4 separate regions of the Homo sapiens genome follow, and regions 1, 2 and 3 are each linked to region 4. The links are contacts of gene promoters, found by promoter capture Hi-C in human tissues and cell types (Jung and others, 2019). All regions are on one chromosome and are shown on one strand. The core of a region is centred on a gene start or on the middle of the fragment in contact, and the rest is flanking DNA. Distances in the headings are between cores, read along the strand shown.

What was found. Contacts are between HindIII fragments. The study calls those that stand out against the background at their distance.
Region 1: a fragment that was not itself captured here is called in contact with the fragment with the promoter of PAPPA-AS1 in region 4 in 2 of the 25 tissues and cell types used here (H1 embryonic stem cells and IMR-90 fibroblasts).
Region 2: a contact is called between a fragment that was not itself captured here and the fragment with the promoter of PAPPA-AS1 in region 4, in 1 of the 25 tissues and cell types used here (H1 embryonic stem cells).
Region 3: a fragment that was not itself captured here is called in contact with the fragment with the promoter of PAPPA-AS1 in region 4 in 1 of the 25 tissues and cell types used here (IMR-90 fibroblasts).

The regions. Positions count from the first base shown.
Region 1 is chr9:116,563,661-116,566,360 of GRCh38, reverse strand. All of the region lies in intron 19 of ASTN2 (astrotactin 2), which reads left to right. Among named protein-coding and RNA genes, the nearest start is that of ASTN2-AS1, 61 kb to the right of the region's middle. The HindIII fragment of the contact is 4,002 bases long and covers 1-2,700 here.
Region 2 is chr9:116,540,659-116,543,358 of GRCh38, reverse strand. All of the region lies in intron 19 of ASTN2 (astrotactin 2), which reads left to right. It overlaps ASTN2-AS1 (ASTN2 antisense RNA 1), which reads right to left. Exons shown (of 12, transcript NR_033973.1): 2 at 2,620-2,700. Among named protein-coding and RNA genes, the nearest start is that of ASTN2-AS1, 38 kb to the right of the region's middle. RefSeq lists an enhancer at 2,655-2,700. The HindIII fragment of the contact is 4,711 bases long and covers 1-2,700 here.
Region 3 is chr9:116,582,287-116,584,986 of GRCh38, reverse strand. The region is part of intron 19 of ASTN2 (astrotactin 2); the gene reads left to right. Among named protein-coding and RNA genes, the nearest start is that of ASTN2-AS1, 79 kb to the right of the region's middle. The HindIII fragment of the contact is 4,873 bases long and covers 1-2,700 here.
Region 4 is chr9:116,399,306-116,402,005 of GRCh38, reverse strand. It overlaps PAPPA-AS1 (PAPPA antisense RNA 1), which reads left to right and starts at 1,400. Exons shown (of 1, transcript NR_103711.1): 1 at 1,400-2,700. It overlaps PAPPA (pappalysin 1), which reads right to left. Exons shown (of 22, transcript NM_002581.5): 22 at 1-2,700. The HindIII fragment of the contact is 20,173 bases long and covers 1-2,700 here.

The sequences.
Region 1 (2,700 bases), core at 84-2,583, 160 kb before region 4:
ATAGAAAAACAAAGGATTGAGCTGATCCTGGAATGAGCCCAGTATTGGGTGAAATGGGAATTCCAGGCAGAAAAATCTTCAAAAGCAAAGGCCCAACATATGAAAGAACATGAAAGATTCAAGGACTTGTGCATGACTCAACATTGATTCAACATGAGATACAAAAGCAGAATTAGTGAGAAATGACCCTGGAGGAGAAATCAAGGCCAGACAAGACTAAGGAATTAGATGCATTTATTGTTTTTTTCTTTTATAGTGTAGACAAGTGAAGACTATTACAGACTTTCCATCAGAGGCATATTTTAGAATGATCACTGGCTGCAGCTTGGAGGATGGACTGGAGGGCTATGTAAGAGACAGAGCTTACACATGTAGAAGGCTGCTGGATGTGGAAGATGAGTGAAGAGTCTAAAACAGTATCCAAGTATCCAGCTTGTGTTATATGTACTTGTAATCGAAGGTCTCTCTCTAGATCTTCTACACCATAGTTTTCTAACTTCAGGTCATAATCCATTAGTAGGTTGTAAAGTCAACTTATTGGATTGGAGCCAACATTTAAAAAAAGAAAATAGGATGTAGGCTGAGTGTGGTGGCTCATGCCTGTAATCCCAGCCCTTTGGGAGGCTGAGACAGGTGGATCTCTTGAGTCCAGGAGTTCAAGACCAGCCTGGACAACATGGCGAGACCCTGTCTCTGCTAAAAATACAAACAAAAAAATAGCCAGGCCACATGGTGGTGTGTGCCCATGGTCCCAGTTACTCAGGAGACTGAGGCTGAGGTGGGAAGATCACTTGAGCTTGGGGTCCGGGGTGGGAATGGGTGGGCAGGTGGAGGGAAGGGTGTGACTGGAGGTTGCAGTGAGCCGATATCACACTACTGCACTCCAGCCTGGGTGATGAAGTGAGACACTGTCTCAAAATAAATAAATAAATATATATATATATATATATATATATATATATATATATATATGGAGAGAGAGAGAGAGAGAGAGAGAGAGAGAGAGAGAAACAGTGTCTTAAAAACATTATCCTGAATGTATTATACATACATTATCCTGAATGTATTTGTTTACTTGTTAATCTCCTCAGTATGGGGCATATGTGTGTGTGTGTGTGTGTGTGTGTGTGTGTGTGTGTGTGTGTTTGTGGCAAGCCTAAGGATTTTTTCATAAAGCTTGCATTTCAGTCATATATACATGCATGTGTATACTAGGTTGGGATGGAAAACATATGAATCACACTAGGTTGGGATGGAAAATATATGAAATAGACTAGAAAATATTGTAAGGCAGTGTTGTGTCTTACATATCTTAAACTCAAGGAATTATTGAGTTGAATGAGGCGTTTGGTTCTAGCTGGCTTAGGTTTGTACTCTAAGTCTACCTCCTTCAATTGGACAATGATGCTTAGAGGAGTTAAGTGATTTCTCCAAGATGAGATAACTCTCATCATATCCCTTACAATACCTGAGTTGATTAAGAAACTGAATCTGTGTATGCATTTATGAATGAATACAGATTATAAATTAGTATCATAGAAATATTTGAGTAAATTAATTAATGAATAAATGAATCCATGAATGAATGAATAACTAGATCTATATATGACTATATGAAAAAATAAATAAATGAAGTAATGAAGGAAAGAAGAATGGGAGGGAGGAAGAAAACTCTCGAATCCTTTCACAAGCACTGGGAATCTGTAGACTATCAGCCAAGAAGTGAAGGATTTCTGAATGACCCCAGGCAGGGGACAACAACCAGTTGGAATTAATCATGTGGCCAGCACAGAGATCAGCCAAAGTTGATGCAAGTATCATTACTTGATACTGCAAGTAACGATGGCCTTGCAGTAGACTTTGTTACACACCCGTTTATTGGGTGAGCTATTAACTGTCCCAGCATGGGGGTAGCAAGGCACCTGACATTAGAGAATGAATGAGATGTTTAGGGTGGGGAGAGGTGGGCTCTTTTTCCAGCTCTGGTCTGCTGAGTCATCTCCAGCCCCAAGGGTTGCCATGCCATCATTTATCCATCCCATGACTGGGAGGCAATCAGTTCCATGCACTTTGGGCCACCTCAGAAAGCTACATGTTTAGTTCAGGGGAGAAGTGCATTAACATGGAAGAGCAAGACCCAAAGAGCCACCTGAGATCACTAAAAGTTAATCAGGCCTATGTCATTTTAACTATTTGAATCAGGTTTAGGTTCGACTCTGGACTTCTCTACTTATTTGATGTGTGGCACTGGGTTAGTCACTTTACCATTCTGAGCTTCCACTTACTCAACTGTAAAATAGACAAAATATCAATCTTAAACTAGTTCTGTAATCCATGTGCTTTGCAAAGAGTTTATGGTATATAAATGCTTGTCCTCTACCTCTCTTCTTTGTCCTTAAAATCTCCCATGCTTTTTATCTGCTTACCAATTCAGTTATTCAACAAATATCTATTGAGTTCTTACTATGTACCAGGCACTGGTATCAGCAGTTAACCAAAGAGAGAAAACTCCTTGTCTTCATGGAGCCAGCATTCTGGAACGTCAGGTTGCAGATGCAATCCAGAGACACCATTCACTCAGCTCTAAAAGATGATTCTAGAAGGAAAGGGAGACAGGAAAAGGAAAAAAGTACAAAATAAATATTTTATCAGATGTTGATAATTGATACAGAAGAAAAAGAAAAGCAGAAAAAAAGACAA
Region 2 (2,700 bases), core at 194-2,693, 140 kb before region 4:
CTTGGGTGATCCTCCCACCTCAGCCTTCAGAATAGCTGGGACGGCAGTCACACGCCACCATGCCCAGCTAATTTTTTTTTTTTTGTAGTTTTCATACAGATAGGGTTTTGTTATGTTGCCCAGGCTGGTCTCAAACTCCTGAGCTCAAGCAATCAGACTGCCCTTATGCTATAATCTCTATACCTGTGATTATGAAGAACTCTCTTCATTTTCTTTCAATTTTTTCTATGCATGCAAAAACAACCAACCAACCAAAAAATGTGCCGGATGGTCTTTAGGGTGCTTATCTAGTAGAGGTTATAATCAATTTAAAAGAGAGTTCCAAAAATATTTCTGTCCAACAAGATACTATATGATTTTTTTTTCAGCTGGATGATTCCAAAGGTGAACATCAAGCTTATACCAAAAATAATAGTCTTTTGTTTTGTTTTGTTTTTTTGAGATAGAGTTTTGCTCTGTCACCCAGGCTGTAGTGCAGTGGCACAATCTCAGCTCACTGCAATCTCTGCCTCCCAGGCTGAAGCAATCCTCCTGCCTCAGCCCCTCAAGTAGCTGGGAGGATTACAGGCACCTGCCACCATGCCCAGCTACTTTTTGTATTTTTGGAAGGGCTTCTCCATGTTGCCCAGGCTGGTCTTGAACTCCTGAGCTCAGGTGATCAGCCCACTTCAGCCTCCAGAAGTGCTGGGATTACAGGTATGAGCCACCACACCCAGCCAAAAATAATAGTCTTAAAACAACATTTTGATGGATGGGACTGATGATTCTCTTTTGTAACTCCAAAATGTAATCTATTTTTTTCCCAGAATATATATAACTTGGCTTTGTTCAGGTTTTTCTAAGTTGTTTTTAAAGTTAACATTGAATTTATATTTTTTTCTAATACCCTTGCAATGATCTTTGACCAAAAGTAATAAACATATTAACTTGAACTGATCTGATTTTAAAACAACTTGCTCAATTGAAGTGGCAGAATTTATTAGGCACCCTTGTAAATGATGGATCTCAGAAGATCTTATAAACCACTAAAAGTTTATGTTACCTTTTTATTTCATTAAAAATATTTTGTTGGTGCTAATGTAAATTTGTCAAACTTTCTTGAAGGCAAATTAGCAATATGTATCAAGAGAATTTGCTTATTCTAAGAAAAGTTATTTATAAAAGATTTACATGTAAGGGTGTTTATTAGGGTTCAGTTAAATAATGTTTAATAAAAAGGAAATAAAAGACAGTCATTTAAATATTACTATTGCAGAAAACATTTTACAAAATAGTATGTGGAGCAGGAGCAAGAGGAAAGTAGTGTGACTATAAAAAAAATCATGAGAAATAATTGTGGTAATGAAAATGTTCTGTTTCTTGACTGTGTCGATACCAGTATCCTGGCTGTGATATTGAATTATAGGTTTGCAAGATGTTACCACAGGAGAAAACTGGGTAAAGAGTACACAAGGTCTCTCTCTATTATTTCTTATAACTGCATATGAATCTACAATTATCTTAAAATTTAAAAATTTAATTTAAAATGGTATATAATTAAAGCACTTCTGGTTTTAGGGATGTGGATGTCTTTATTGAGAGCTGAAGGGGAAATCTTATAAATCAAGAAGACACAGAATCTGAGAAGTTATTAGACACCACATGTGCTATTCTCTCAGTCTTTGGAGGGCCCATCAGCTCTTGCCTTGTTCTGTCTCTGCTTCCATCTGCCCATGGTTAGAGTCACTTCCCCAATCTGGTGCAGTGTTTCATCCACTGCCTATCTTCCTGGTACCTTAGTACTATCAGCTGTAATTCCTGGGCAATAAATGTGAGTGGATCACCTTGGGTTAAGTTTTTACTCTCAGTCCAATTAACTATGATTAAAGCAATAGAGTTAACTAGGAAAACCATGGCAACAAGGGCCCAGTGTTCCATGTGTTGGGGCCTGCTCTCATTATAGGTTGGGTAGAACTTGCAGTGGCTCATAAGATTATAGACCCTTTCTCACTCTCTGTATTGTCCATCTGTTCAAGAAAAAATGACTATAAGAGTATATACCAAAATGTTATATTATCAGTTATTTTCTTTGTGTTAGATCTGGCAGATTTATATTTTCTCTTTCCCGCCTAAATTTCCTACTATGATCACATTTTATTTTCTGTTATAAGAAAAATGTTTAAAATTGTGTAAAATTAATTTTATGATAGAAAAGAGTATGACACATTTATTATAGAATGGGAATGCAGAAACATGAGTAAGTTACAACTATACCAGCCTAATAATATCATAATTTTGGCATATTTCTTTCCTCAATGTCCATTCCTTATATAGTGGAGAATGTCATGTATATTTTTTTCTGCTTTTTTTTTTCATTAGATGTGGCATTCAAACTTTTTCCCCTAGTTTCAAAACTAGGGGAAAAACTTTTGTAAAAATTTTCATGTTCATATACTGTTTCATAATATGGGTATCTCAAATATTATTAATCATTTATTTAGTGCTGGACATTTAGGCATTTCCAATTTCTCAATTATTTTGGAGACTGCAAGATAAAAATGGGTGCTTGCATTTTAGACAAAAATAATCTCTTATGAAGACCAGCAACTAAAAAGGAATTTTAAAATCCACTAAATTCACCTGTTGGATGGAACTTAGCAGCAGCCATTCTCTTCTATTGTGCTCCTTTCCTTTTGGAAAGTCCTGTCCCTGGGTAAGCTC
Region 3 (2,700 bases), core at 127-2,626, 180 kb before region 4:
AGTGCACTCACTCATTCTCTCTACCGTTTATTTGGCATACTCCATTCTTTGTCTTGGAGTACCTCTTCTGTATCAGAGTTGGAAGGATCTTAAGAGATCATCTAGTCTTGCTTTCTCTTTAACATTTTTGTATGCCCTTGAACATGCACTGGTAACATGCCTCCAGTGTTGGAAAACTCAGTTCTTCCTAAAGTGTTCTATATGTATGATCATGTCATCTGCAAACAGAGACAATTATACTTCTTCCTTTCCAATTTGGATGACTTTTATTTATTTATTACTTGTCTAATTGCTGTAGCTAGGACTTTTAGTACTATATGAACAGAAGTGGTAAGAACAGACATCTTTGCCTTTTTTCTAATTTTAGACGTTTAGTCTTTCACCATTAAGTATAATGCTAGTTGTATTTTTTTATGGTATATGCCCTTTATTACATGGAAGGAGGTATCTTCTATTTCTAGTTTGCTGCAAAAGCTTTGTTTTGTTTCCATTTGAAATGGATGTTGAATTTTCTGAGTCTATTGAAATGATGGTAGTGGGCTATAGTTTATCTTTCTAAGCACTTTTCTCTTGGAATTTTTTGGGCCTGAGTATAAAGTTCATCATTGATAGCAGGCCATTTGTCCAGTGAGAGATCAGAATGCCCCAGATAGTACCTAGGGATTTCGGGCAAGGAGAGTAATGCTGTCTTCACCCCCATGGTCCTCCTAAAGCCAGGGCCTTGCCTCCAGCATTGTTCTGGGGCCTGGAACACTGAGATCTGGGGAGACACATCACTCAAATTTCCTGGAAAATTCCGTTTAATGAATGACCCACCCATTCTCTCCTAGCTCCTTTGCTTCTTCCTGAGTGAGACTTAATCTCAGCAACTGGGTTACCTCACATTTCACTTTGTTTAGAAAGGATCAGGTTTTCCTCCTCTTAATTGGGTGATTAGGCCTTTGTGAGCTCACAGATCTAATCTTGAGATTTGGGTGGGTTGAATTTGGTTATGGAGACATAATAGGAAATAGTGTTTTGGGGAGTTTGGGTTAGAGGGAGTGATTGAATATATTCCTCAGTCAGAGGTCTTGTTTGGGGGCAGGCAAGAGTTTCTCCCATGAAGATGGTCTCTTCTACATCTAAAAGAGTCGGCTCAGTGACTCTCTGATGTAAATTCATGTACAACAGAAGCTTGGGATGGGAGACTGTCTGCCTCGAGTTATGCACCTTTTTGCTTTGAGGACCTGTCCTCCTTGCCATTTCAGACTCAAGGTGTGTGAGTGGGTGTGGTATAGCAGGAGTTCAGGACTTCTGGTTCTCTTTGGTTCCAACTTCAATTAAGCTATCAACTTTCTCTGTGGCTTTTGGAAAGTTGCTTTTCCTCTCAGGCTCTGTTTCACCTTCTGAAAACTTTTTTTTTTTTTTAAGGTAAGGATCTATGTCTGCCACAGTCTCATTTTGAATTAAGGCTTTATGTAGTTAAGGATGCCTAACCAGCACATGTACAGAACAGCGTGCCTAGCACTGGGCAAAGTGCTGGGTATTCGATGATGAGCAAGAATAGGCAAAAACTCTGCCTTCTTGAAATTTAGGATTAAATTGGGAACATAAGTAATAAGCAATTAACTTTAAGCAGAGACTCCTCTGGAGGGAGATCATGGCATTCCATAGTAGTGTGTAGCCAGCAATTTTAACCTGTTGTTGAAAAACTATGTTAAAATAAAATAAACATTTATTCATGGGATCCAAGAAAAGTTCTCTCTTCAGAAGCAGATGTTCCTGGTTGATTAATTAGACAAATCACTTTATTAAAGATCAACTGGTTATCTAAAGAGTCCAAGGAGAACTGCATGACTATGTACTTCCTGGGCTGGGAACCTCTGCTGGAAGGAAGGATCCTGAATCAAGTGGGGCTGGACCACTGGAAGTTTAAAGGATTGCCTAATTCTGTATCAGTGTGATAATTTGATTAATATCTGCAAGCTCCAGGAGAGCAGGGCCTAAGTCTGTGCCACTCAGCATTGCATTCCAAGACTCTGGTACAGTGTCTGGCACATAGTCAGCACTTAACAAATGTTGAATGAATGATGTCGAGAGGAGACAAGACAGGGACCAGATCTCAGAGGGATAAGAAAACAGGCTAAGCTACTTGGACTTTATCCTGTAGGAAAAGGGGAACCTTTGAAGCCTTTTGAGGATCGTAAACATAATCAGAATGGTGCTTTGGAAAGAAAGATAACTTTTCTAAACCTCCTGATCACGGTTTCTTGTTTCTTTTGCTCAACTGTGAACTTCCTGATAGATCTTTTCTCATGCTTACTGGTGTTTACACAGTTTCGTGCACAGAGAAAGTACTTAGGGAACATTGGTAGCATGAGTGAATGGAAGAATAAACAAACAAAGGTACAATAACAACAAAAAGTGGCTGGGTAGATGAAGAGAACGGTGTTCAGCACAGGCTTGGAGTTAGTTTGATATCTGAAGTCTCAGTTACATCACTTACTAGTTATGTGGCCTTGGGTACAATACTTTCTTTTGGCTTTGGGTCTTAGTTTGACTCTTAACTATGGACATTAGTATGTGGCACATAATAGGCATTCAGTAAATTTGACCATCATTATTTGTATTCTTCCTTTCATGGGGAAGATACATGGTTTTCTAGGAAAGCTGCAAAGGAGAATCCTTGGACCCTTCCCTCATTCTCTTCAAAGTTTATAA
Region 4 (2,700 bases), core at 151-2,650:
TAACTTAGATCCATAAAAACACATAAACAGAAAAAAAAATAGGAGCAGCAAATTTATGCGCGTGAGGTACAGAAAAAGGATTGGAATTGTGTTTAGTTTTTGGTGTTTAGATTATTTTCTTTGTGTCTTTCTTCTTTTTCTTTTTTTTTTTCTTTTTTACAATAGGCCAGAAGAATTCTTATGAGAACAGCTTTTAAGCACTTCAATGGAGTGTCATTTTTTTGGTAGCTTCCAGAAGGTGCCAAACAGGTTTCAACATCATATTAATTAGAAATACCCATAATAATTATAACAATAATAAAAAGGTATAATATGGTACATAAATATGGAAGAGCAGTTTGTAATATGAATACATTTTCTCTAGACGAGATCACAGTTTTATTTTGTAAATATTACATTTAAGTATATATATACACACATATATGTACAACTATATATACATGTGCATATATATGTAAATTTATATTTATATATAATATCTTTATATAGATAGATATCTGCAGACAGGTTATTGATTATAGAGACCCAAGAAAGCAACTCAATAATTGTTCAAAGTTTTCCTCACTGACTGCTGGTGTGTAGTTTAAGAAGCCCCCATTTGTTTGCACTCAGAATGCCTTATCTTCTTTTAATGGAACACTTGATGTGGAATTTTAAGTCTGAGAAGTGAGGTGCCTTCTGAAGAAGAGATTTTAGAGACTCCCTTCCTCTATAAGTTGGAAATGACCAGAAGTCTTAAGTAGACGACAGTTAGCTGACTTTGACATTGTAGGACATAATCAGCTTTTAACCAAATTATAGAACTGGTAAAGGGTAAGATCAAATTTGCCAAAAAAATAAAATATTCTCCAATACAGGTCTCTCTTTTAAGGTGGACTACAATTCAGGAGCTCCGGCTTTATTCCTTGAAATATCAAACAAGCACTCCCTGTCTTGTCTTTCTAAAAGGCCGATGGGCCTGTGCATTCTTGAATAATAACCCATGGACTTTGTGTCAAGCGTTGGCCCTCACAGCCCACCTAAAACCTCAGGGCCTCAAAATCTCCTGCCCTCCCACTGTGAGGTAGGTATATAGTATTATCCCCATTTTGCAGCTAGAGAAACTGATGCAAATGTAGAGGCAATTGGATAACTTGTTCAAGATCACTGAGCAAACTGCTGCCTGGAGTCAAAAATTCTAACTTCTGTACAACAGGGACATAATTTCTCTTTTGGCTATTATACATTTCTTTTAAAAAGCAAGTGATTGGTAGGAATTTGGCAAAAGTTGAATAAGTTACAAGAACAGGCTTTTATTCATTTGCTATTTGGTTTTTATGTTTCTTGTTTACTTCGTTTGATTTGTTTCTCAAAACTCACTCAGTGGGATTACCTGTCTGTCATGTAGCAGCTTTTTAAAAAACTGGACTGTGCAGTGTGGTTCTGAGTGCAGTCTTTATAAAGCCCAGTGCTGTACTGGTAAATATAAACATTTTATAACGTGAAAAGCACAACGACACAATATGTCCCCTTAATAGCTGGAAAAACCAATATAAGCCCTCCCACTCCCTACTACCACTGATTGCCACCAAACAAATAAACAAAATGCCCACCCCACCCAACAACAACAATAACACATCAAGGGGGAAAATGTCATATTTCCTGGACCTACCACAATGTACAGAAAATAACAGACAGTGTTATCAAATCCCACTCTATGTCTTCTAGGGAAATCTTTATGTTTGTGTCTACCTACTGAGGCTGTAGAATAAACAATTTCCTTTAGGAAACATAAAAATAGGTTTTTTATTCTTAGTTTTTAATCATGCATTTTTATTTCCTTTTAATCTCTTTGTCTTCTATTATCTCTATCTGTACAGCTTTGTCACCATTTTTTTTTATTTTCTCACTTGAAGTAGTTCCAGAAAAAAACACAAAACCTCAAAACTGTTAACTTGACCTTATAATTTCCTTTCTCTTTCTTTCTTTCTTTCTTTTTCTTTCTTTCACACAGGTAAGACCTATAACAACAAATTGACAATTACAACCAAGTTAAATCGAACCTGGAAGGGAGGTAGCTGAAATCTGTCTCAAAGAATTATTTTCAACAAATAGTATTTAAGCATTGGCCAGGATGGGAATAAGACCAAGAGAACCGTCTAGGCAGTGACTCAATGTGTTGAAGCCAGGAGTGGCAGCTGATACCCTGCATTTTCAAAGCCCTACCATCTATGACAATCTTTCCCTTCCTTAACACCCCAATTCACCATCAAAACTCATTTCCCAAGGACTGTATTTCCTTAAAAGGTTGTTGGCACAGAATCTGGGGGTAATGCAAATCCTTTGGGTAGGTAGTTAAGATTGTGGCTTGGAAAAGCTTCCCTAAATAGGGCTTAGAGGACTGTCCACCTCATCTTTCATATTTTGCTGCTAACAATCTAATACTTCAGATGCAGAACCTTCAGTGTTTTAGGGCCTTTGAGCTGCTGACACACAATAGTGCATCAGAGCTGCCTCTCAGTGCTCCGGTCACCTACACAGAAGATGACTGAAGGAATGAAATGACGAGTTAATTCCCAGGAAGAAAATGAAACTGGGAACAAATGCATTGCCCAAATTGAGCTGACCCTCCTCCACTAAGGTTTGAAAAGACCCTATTAAAGATACCTTCCATGTGGGCACGAGGTTGGCCACCAATCAAGTAGCCTCTTTTGCCTAATA